Regions from separate parts of the Homo sapiens genome. Here region 1 is linked to region 2. The links are contacts of gene promoters, found by promoter capture Hi-C in blood cells and fetal thymus (Javierre and others, 2016). All regions are on one chromosome and are shown on one strand. Each heading gives the region's core, a stretch centred on a gene start or on the middle of the fragment in contact. The rest is flanking DNA. Distances are from core to core; before and after follow the strand shown.

Region 1 (4,371 bases), core at 1,516-4,015, 290 kb before region 2:
GTCAATGCAGATTAGTGTTACTTTTCTAACGAGTAGTTTGACAAAACATTTCCAATGTTTAAATATGTGAGCCCTTTGTCCTAACAACGGTACTTTTGGGAATTCATCCCAACAGGACAATTAAGTTCCCAAAAGTTTATATTTCAGGAAGTTATCAAAACAAGACATTTGGAACAATCTAAATAAGCGCTTAGCAATAGGGGAATTAGGCAACTACGGTATATTTACATAGTGGAATACTGCTGGCCATTAAAAACTTAGACATTTTAATAGTGTCACTGAAAAGATGATGCAGTATTTCATATACACTGATCCCATTTTTGTAAACTTATATATATTTTATATGTGCACAGAAAAATGTCTGAAGGAATGTTTACCAATTTGAGTGGTAGAATTTGGGATCATTTTTACCTTTCCTATTTATGTCCATCTGTATGGCTTGTCACTTATACAACATACATGTATTCTTTTAAAATATGAAGAAACAACAGCCATTTTAAAAGCATAACTGCTACTTCTAAGGATATACTTCTTGGCATTCTTTCATTTCCCTTTACAATGCCAAGAATGAAAATGGCCACTCATAAAATCACAAACTACCGTTTGCTCTGGAACACTCTTACCTCCTTACTTCGCCTAGTATCTATCAACTTACCATGTCAATACCGGCTTCAGATTTCAGCTTAATTAGCAATTCCTTGGGGAAGCCTGCTCTGATGTCCCTAGCCAGGTCAAATGCCCCTGTTCTAATACTCTCTAGATACAATTTGACATGGCCAGGCAGATTGGCTCATGCCTGTAATCCCAGCACTTTGGGATGCTGAGGCAGGCAGATCACTTGAGGCCAGGAGTTCAATACCAGCCTAGCCAACATGGCGAAACCCCAACTCTATTAAAAATACAAAAAAAAAAAATCAGCTGGGCATGGTGGTACACACCTGTAATCCTAGCTACCTGGTGGCTGAGGCACAAGAATTGCTTGAACCTGGGAGGCAGAGGTTGCAGTGAGTTGAGACTGCACCACTACACTCCAGCCTGGGCAACAGAGCGAGACTCTGCCTCAAAAAAAAAAAAAAAAAAAAATATATATATATATATATTTGTATGGATACCTAGTTCATGTCTCTTGAGAATATGTCCATTTTTATGTTCATCACAGCAATCCAGAACTAACACAGAGCCTGGGACACAGAAGATGCTCAGAGGGTAATTTGTTAATGCAGTCCAGGCTGTGACCTCTTCCTGAAACTCCAGACTCACATATCCAACTGCCCACTCAACATCTCACATAGAGGTCTGACAGTCATCTTACACTCAGCATGGCCAATATTACGTTTTTATTTCTTCCCCATCTTCCCATTCAACCCACTCCTAAACAAGTGTTCCCAGTATCAGTAAATTATACAACCCAGTGACCTCAAGCCAAAAAATTGTGATGTCATCTTTTTCACACCCAACATACAAGCCATCAGTAAATCCTGCCAGCTGTACCTTCCAAATATATTTCAATTCGGCCTCTTTTCTCAGCCTTTGCCGCACCACCCTATCCAAGTCACCTTCATATCTCATCTGGAATGATGCATTCGCTGCTAACTGTTCTCCCTCCTTCTTATCTTATGCCCTGCAGTCTATCCTCAGATCACCAATAAATCAGGTTGCATCTCTCCCTTGTTTAATCCTTCTAACAGTTACTGACTGCACTTGGCCCTAGGTGATCTGGCCACTGGCTACCTGTCTGACCTAATTTTCTACCACTCTCCCACCTTGGTTTCTCCATTTTAGCCACACTGACCTTGCTGACCCTCAGAAATGTCAATGATACTTCCATCTCAAACCTGAACAATTCTACCCCAAATACTTACATAGCTCTGTCACTTCACATATGGTCTCTACATCATGTCTTTGGAGCCCTTTCTGGATCATCCTAAATAACTAAATAACTAAAATAATAGCCCTGGGCTGGGCGCAGTGGCTCACACCTGTAATCCCAGCACTCTAGGAGGCTGAGGTGGGCAGATCATTTGAGGCCAAGAGTTCGAGACCCTGCCTGGCCAACATGGTGAAACCCCGTCTCTACTAAAAATACAAAAATTAGCTGGGTGTGGTGGCATTCACCTGTAATCCCAGCTACTTGGGAGGCTGAGGCATGAGAATTGCTTGAACCCGCGAAGTGGAGGTTACAGTGAGCCACAATCACGCCACTGCACTCCAGCATGGGCAACAGAGGGAGACTATGTCTCAAAAAAAATAAAATAATAAAAGCCCCTATGACTCTCCGGCCCCTCGCTCTGACATCTTTTTCTTCACAACGTTTATATATGATTATCTATAATCTACTCGTTAATAGATTTGTTCATTGTTTCTCCAGATATAAAATAAACTCCATAAAGGCAAGGACATCACTTTGTTTAGTGCTATATCCTCAATGCCTAGAATAGGGCCTAGTATATAATAGGGATTGAATGAAAAAATAAAATCCAGAAACACCTGGGCTTAGAAAACGAAACCTGAACAGTACATTGGTCATATCTCTTCTTTCAGAGTTCATCAAAACAACAGCAAATATTACAGGAAGCAAACCAGGAGGCCCTGACAATATTCTCATCTTACAGGTTATACACGCAAGTACTCAACTCCAAGTCAAACAAGCCCGCTTTACAAGACAGAAACATGTTTTTCTGATGTGAACTTCATAAAATTCCTGAAATACACATTGCACAGATATTTTTCCCCTTTGACAGATGAGGAAATAGAATCAAAGAGAATGAGTGACTTATCTAAAAATCACAAAGCTATGCTGTGGAGATAACAGGTCATGATCATTATCTTAGTTGCTAAATTCAAGCCAGGTAGGAAGGCAAATTTTCCTATTGATATGAAGTCATACTAGCTCCCTGTAAATATAAAATGTTAGCGAAATAAAACAAAATATAAGTTATAATCAAGTAGACACATACCCTTTTCCAGGCCCCAGTTTAGGGGAGCCCACTCCCTCTTTAGTACGAGAAAGGATGTCTCTGACTCGGAGGGCAGCCAGTGGGTCCTTCTCTTTCCCCTTATCAGCCAACGCAGTAGGACTGAGGTTCAGTATGAGGAAAAGGCTGTTTAACAAGCACCAAGCACCCAGCAATTGGAAATTCTGATAGTGCTGTTGTGAAAGGCACAAAATAAAAAACATAATCATAGAGATATTTACATCTCAGAGAGGACAAGATAGGAAGTATGCAGCAGAGACAGATACGCTTCTTACCTCACCACCAGCCCGGCGAGAACTGCTGATTGCTTGTCCAATCATGTCATAGATTTCGAGCTGTACAATATCAAACAGACACAAAAATCTGAACAAGCTGACAGATTTCATCATAAATGCTAAATCCTACCCAAACAATTTAACTTGAAGAGTTCAATATCCTCTTTTCAATGATACATTCCATCGTACTTTCCTTGACCTTCACATGGAGCTGACTCCCTCTTTTCATTTGGATCAAATGTCACCTTCTCAGAAGCCATCCCTCCTCCGAATCAAAAGCAGCATGCCCAGCTCCACATCAGATCACTTTTTTTTTTTTAAGACGGAGTTTCACTCTTGTTGTCCAGGCTGGAGTACGATGGCGTGATCCCGGCTCACTGAAACCTCCACCTCCCAGGCTCAAGCGATTCTCCTGCCTCAGCCTCCAGAGTAGCGGGGATTACAGGCATGCACCACCACACCCAGCTAATTTTTGTATTTTTAGTAGAGACAGGGTTTCACCATGCTGGCCAGGCTGGTTTTGAACTCCTAACCTCAGGTGATCCACCCACCTCCCAAAGTACTGGGATCACAGGTGTGAGTCACCACACCCGGCCCAGATCACTATCAATCACAATGTATTGTTTCAGCGCACTTAATCACTATCGGAAATTTTCCTGTTTACTGCATTTCCCTAAAAGTACACTGACACACAGTAGGCCCTCAAACATATTTGCTGAATTAATGGCTAATCTTTCAAGTGTGTTCTACAGAGATAGGGAAACAATATACCAGATCAACCAATATACCAAATCAACAAGCTGGATGCCTACCTCTTAGACCTACTAGTGCCCAGGGAAAGTAGTGTGGAGAATACTCTAAGTTCTTTCTTCTATCATGGAAGAAAGTGGAACTGGCCATACTCCCTCATTTGAACAATCAAGGTTCCCTTATCCCCAGATCTTTGGCTTACACATTTCTGGACAATTGTAGCTGCGTCACTTTCATAGTCATCTTCTTTGGAGCTCGTGGACCCTGTCCGCACTTGCTGGGCACTACCCACATGGAGGATGGCCATGCACGTTGCCACACTCACACCTGAAAAAGAAGATGCACAGGTCTCAGCCATGGAGTGCATCCAA
Region 2 (4,455 bases), core at 1,668-4,167:
GCCTATGCATTTTAACTGGGAAGGAGAAACTCATGCCAACAAAAATCATGGAATTCATTCCAAAGTCAAATGCATTTTAGATTCTCAAGTCACTATTTCCCTCAATGGATAACAGAGATCTAGCTGTATTCTCTACCATCAAATCTACTGAAAATGAAAAACATGGTGATCTGAATTCATTTACCTACAATGCAACCTCACACCACCACTTCTGTCCTACGCCAACCATCTACACCGGCTTAATGGTCAGAGTATTCAAATAGGGGATAAACGTAACAATAAGCAGTCAGAAATTACAAGGCTAAGGGATACTAAGAACAAGTGACTGAGAGAATGAATATGAAATCCAAGCAGGTAAGTTCATGGACACAGACACATGCCAAAGAGAACATTCCAAGTGGTTTCTTCCAACGCCAGGTGCTGTTCTAGGCCCCACGGATACAGCTGCGGAAAACACAAGACACAAATCTCTGCCCTCCAAGAGCTCATTCTGGCCCATGCTAAATATGCCTGTATCACCATACAGCTATTTCACTATAAACATGATTTCCTATACAAAGGATCTAAAATACAATACATGGGCAATAAATACTGCTCCTCCCCCCTTGCCATGTTTGAATATCCCATTTTATGTTTTTCAAACGGTATCATTAAACCTTCTGACATACAAGCAGCTTGGTACAATGGGAAGAACAGTTTAGAGCCTGCCAGATGGGCTTCCACTGACCAACAGTGGTTCCTCCACTGGCTGAGCAACACCCTGAATAAGTCACTCCACCTCCTGAGCCTCAGCTGCCTCATCTATAAAATGGGGACAGCCCCAGAAGGGCTTCCTGTGGATGAAAACAGCTTGTACAGGTGAAGCACACCACAGTGACTGGCAGACAGTTCCTCCACCCTTTCCAGCCTTTTCAGATGAGAGCTGAGTACAAGACTCCTGAGAAGCTTCAGGTGTCATGTGCTCCTCCTGGGGGACTGAGGCACTTTCCCATCACCTGGCGAGAATCGCTGCTTCCTGCCTTATACTTTGTCCTGAGTGCACACTCAGGAAACTTCAGCCCACTTTCAAAGTCCTCACCCACCACTGCCCTGGAGAAGTCGTTCTCCATCAAGGCCTGGGGCCAGGCCCACCTCCCCAAACAAGGAGTTTTCAGCCAAAGTTACTGGACAAATCCGAAGGCCTTAAAAGTGGCATTGCCCATGTTTTTAATCAGCATACAGGAAGGCATCAAAAGAAAGCTTAACCCATCTCAACTACTCACCCTCGTTCAGCAGCAACATCCCTTGACTAAACAAGGAACCATGGTCCTCAAAACACTTTGAGGCCCAAAGTCCACATACAAACATGCTCCAAAAATCCCTTGATCCTGTCAGGAAGAAGTTCTCTGGCCCTTCCAACCTAAGTGCTGGGCCTGTCCTGCAGAAGGGTCAAGTGGCAGGAGGGCAGGTCTATCTGTGGGGGCCTATGTGAAACCCCAGGTTCCTCAAAAGTCTGGATAGCATCTGCCTTCTTTACCAAAACAAACACCACGAGCGGAGCCAGCACTCTCCCTAGGCGTTCTGCTCACCTGATCCGAGGGACTTCCATAATCAGCAGTTCCAACCCTTGCAAGCTGACAGTTCAGAGGGAAGGGGAGGCTGCGCCTGCTTGGGTGCATCGTGTCCAGGCCATATGCTGGATCCAGGGCCTGGTGGCCCCCCAAGGCCACGGCCTCACAAGGGCGATTGTGCGTTCATCCTTGTCCTGTGGGCCACCCATCCTCGCCCCTCGGCTCCCACTCAGGCCCGGGCGCCGTGGACCCCGGCCTGCCCTGCAGAATGCTTCGCACGCACAGCACCCACGGCGGCAGCCTCGAGAAGGGCCCGCAGAGCAGCGCGCTGCCTTCTGGGCACACCGATGCCCGCCCTTCCCTCGCTGGCTCCTAGGCGGCCTCCCTAGAAGCGGCAACTGAGAAGGCACAGCACCGGGACCACCCCATCCCTGATGGAGAGCTCCCCTCGCTCCCCAAAGGCTGCAAAGAAGGCGCGCCCCAGGTACAGGGAAGGGGACCCTGGGTCGTGCACCAGGCAGGGGGCAGGACCCTGATGAGAGGCTCAGGGCGGGGACCGAGCGGGGCTGACGCAGGTTACGCTAGGAGTGGCGAAAAGTCCAGGGAAGGGGATCATGGTGGGGAGGGGGCAGTGAGGTCCAGACGGGGGCCATGGGCGGAGAAGAGGAGGTCCAGATTTAAGTTCACAGAGAGAAGAGGAGATTCAGGCTGAGGCCACGGAGAAGAGGGGAAGCAAACCTAGGCCGCTGCAGAAGGGGCTGACCGGGGTCCAGCCTGAGGCCATGGAGAAGGCAAAGGGGGAGGGACAGAGGGAGGCAGCGGCCTAGCCTGGGCCATGGCAGGGAGAAACGACGGCCTAGCCTGGGCCGGAGAGACGGGGGAAAGCAGACCTAGCCCTAGACCGGGGGAGGAAGGGGGCCCACGCCAGGGTCACCGAGGGGGTGCCTGGCTGGGGACACGGTTCGGGAGGGAGGGTCTAGCCTGGGCTATGGGAGAGACCAGCCTGAACACAGAGGTAGTGAGTGGGACTCCAGCTTGCGCCAAGGGCGGGGGCTGGGAGCGGGGGCAGGGTCACTGCCACCCAAGTCGTCCGCGCCGGCGGCACCCTCCTGGGCGGGGAGGGACCGGGTCCACCCAGGGTCCGGGACCCCGCCCCTCCCCCACCCCGGGAAGCCACCCGTCCCAGGCCAGGGATGGGCAGGGGGAGGGGGACGCGAGCTCCGGAGGGGCCCCCGGGCCGGGGAGGGGGCCGTGCGGCCTTTACCATGGTGGCGGCGGCGGCGGCGGTCCCGGTCCCGGCGTCAGTGGCTCTCCCCCCCGCAGCAGGGCCCGGCGCTTCCACTTCCCCGGGTGCCCAGGAGTGAACATCCGGGTCAGCACCCCCCTCCCCCCGCGCCGGGCCGCCGCCACCTTCCTTCCCCGCCCCGGCCCGGCCCGGGCCCGCCCCCCACGCCGCCAGCTCGCGGCCAATGAGCGCGCGGGGCTGCGGCGATCGCCAAGTATGGAGAGCGGCGCGAGAGGCGGGCGCCGACGGGGTGCGGGGGCGGGGCCTGCGAGGCGGGGCGGGGCGCGGCGCTGCGCGGCGCGGCTGCCGGGAGTCCCCGGCACGGGTTGCGGGCCGGGGCGGAAAGGTCTCCTGGCTGTCTGAGGTCCAGTCCCCGACTCTGGGCCTGCAGCAGCGAGTGGCGGCGAGGGAACCGCACCCCACAGTCCCCGCGGGCGGGGATGCGGAAGGCACCGCGGCTGGGAGGGGACCGGCCCTCCGCGCCCCACCCCGTGCACGCGCTCACTCCTGCGGCGCACCCGGAACTGCCGCCGAGCGCGGACCGGCCCGGCCCAGCCCAACCCAGCCCAACCCAGCACTGGGGGAGCGCGCCGGGAGCGGGGCAGGAGCCCAGCGCTGCCGCTCGCTACGGCAGGATCTGGAGCGCCGCGCTGCACCTGAGCCCGGGCACGAATTGAGGAGCCTCGGGCTGACGCCATTTATTCAGCACCTACTATGTGCCAGGCCTTGTTTAGGCACCGGAAGATAACAGATAAGACATAAAGATCCCTGCCGGTATAGCTGCAGACAGAATATCTGTGAGGATGACACAGGTAGAGATTAGAAAATTAAGTTCAACAGGTCGGCCGCGGTGGCTCACGCCTGTAATCCCAGCACTTTGGAAGGCCGAGGCGGGCCAAGGTCAAGAGATCGAGACCATCCTGGCCAACATGGTGAAACCCCGTTTCTACTAAAAATACAAAAATTAGCTGGGCGTGGTGGTTCGCTCCTATAGTCCCAGCTACTCGGGAGGCTGAGGCAGGAGAATCGTTTGAACCCGGGGGCAGAGGTTGCAGTGAGCCAAGATCGCGCCACTGCACCCCAGCCTGGCGACAGAGCAAGACTCTGTCTCAAAAGAAAAAAAATTAAGTTCAACAAATGCTAGCTGTTATGAGTACTGTTGAATGTGCTACAGAGAACCATTCCATTAGCCCAGAAGGGCTTCCTCGCTCCACAAAGTGACTCAAGTTTCTCTCTCCCAATCTCTCTCTCTCTCTCTCAATCAAATATTTGTTAAGCTTAGTCTAGGTAGCAGGAGAGATCTGGATTGCTAACAATATCTGCCTCCGTGGCCTGTTTGCTTTGGTTAAATCAAATTAGGCGATCTGTGAGGGGATGGTAAACTGCACAGATGACAGGAATTGTTTCCCTGAGCCAGGCCCTGTCCTCAGGGAGCTCATAGACAAGTCGAAGCTTTCACAGGTAGCCACTGGCAGAAAAAGCATACGGGTAAGTCTCGCAAGAATGGTATTGGATGAGTATTACAGAAATTCAAGGAAGAGAATGGCACACGCAGTAGATACTTATTGAGCATCTGCTATGTGCCAAGCACTGTGCTAGGCTCTGGAAATAGAGCAATGA

Evidence for each region. Contacts are between HindIII fragments. The CHiCAGO score rates a contact against its expected background, and 5 or more counts as called.
Region 1: a contact is called between a fragment that was not itself captured here and the fragment with the promoter of CAPZB in region 2, in 1 of 17 cell types (total CD4 T cells). The highest score is 5.2, in total CD4 T cells.

What each region holds. Positions count from the first base shown.
Region 1 is chr1:19,189,231-19,193,601 of GRCh38, forward strand. It overlaps UBR4 (ubiquitin protein ligase E3 component n-recognin 4), which reads right to left. Exons shown (of 106, transcript NM_020765.3): 9 at 4,203-4,327; 10 at 3,251-3,310; 11 at 2,958-3,148. Among named protein-coding and RNA genes, the nearest start is that of UBR4, 19 kb to the right of the region's middle. The HindIII fragment of the contact is 9,242 bases long and covers 1-4,371 here.
Region 2 is chr1:19,482,622-19,487,076 of GRCh38, forward strand. It overlaps CAPZB (capping actin protein of muscle Z-line subunit beta), which reads right to left and starts at 2,918. Exons shown (of 9, transcript NM_004930.5): 1 at 2,815-2,918. The coding sequence starts at 2,817. It also overlaps a transcript of LOC105376819 not described here. RefSeq lists enhancers at 1,195-1,703, 1,704-2,211, 2,212-2,720 and silencers at 2,625-2,734, 2,765-3,494. The HindIII fragment of the contact is 2,873 bases long and covers 1,238-4,110 here.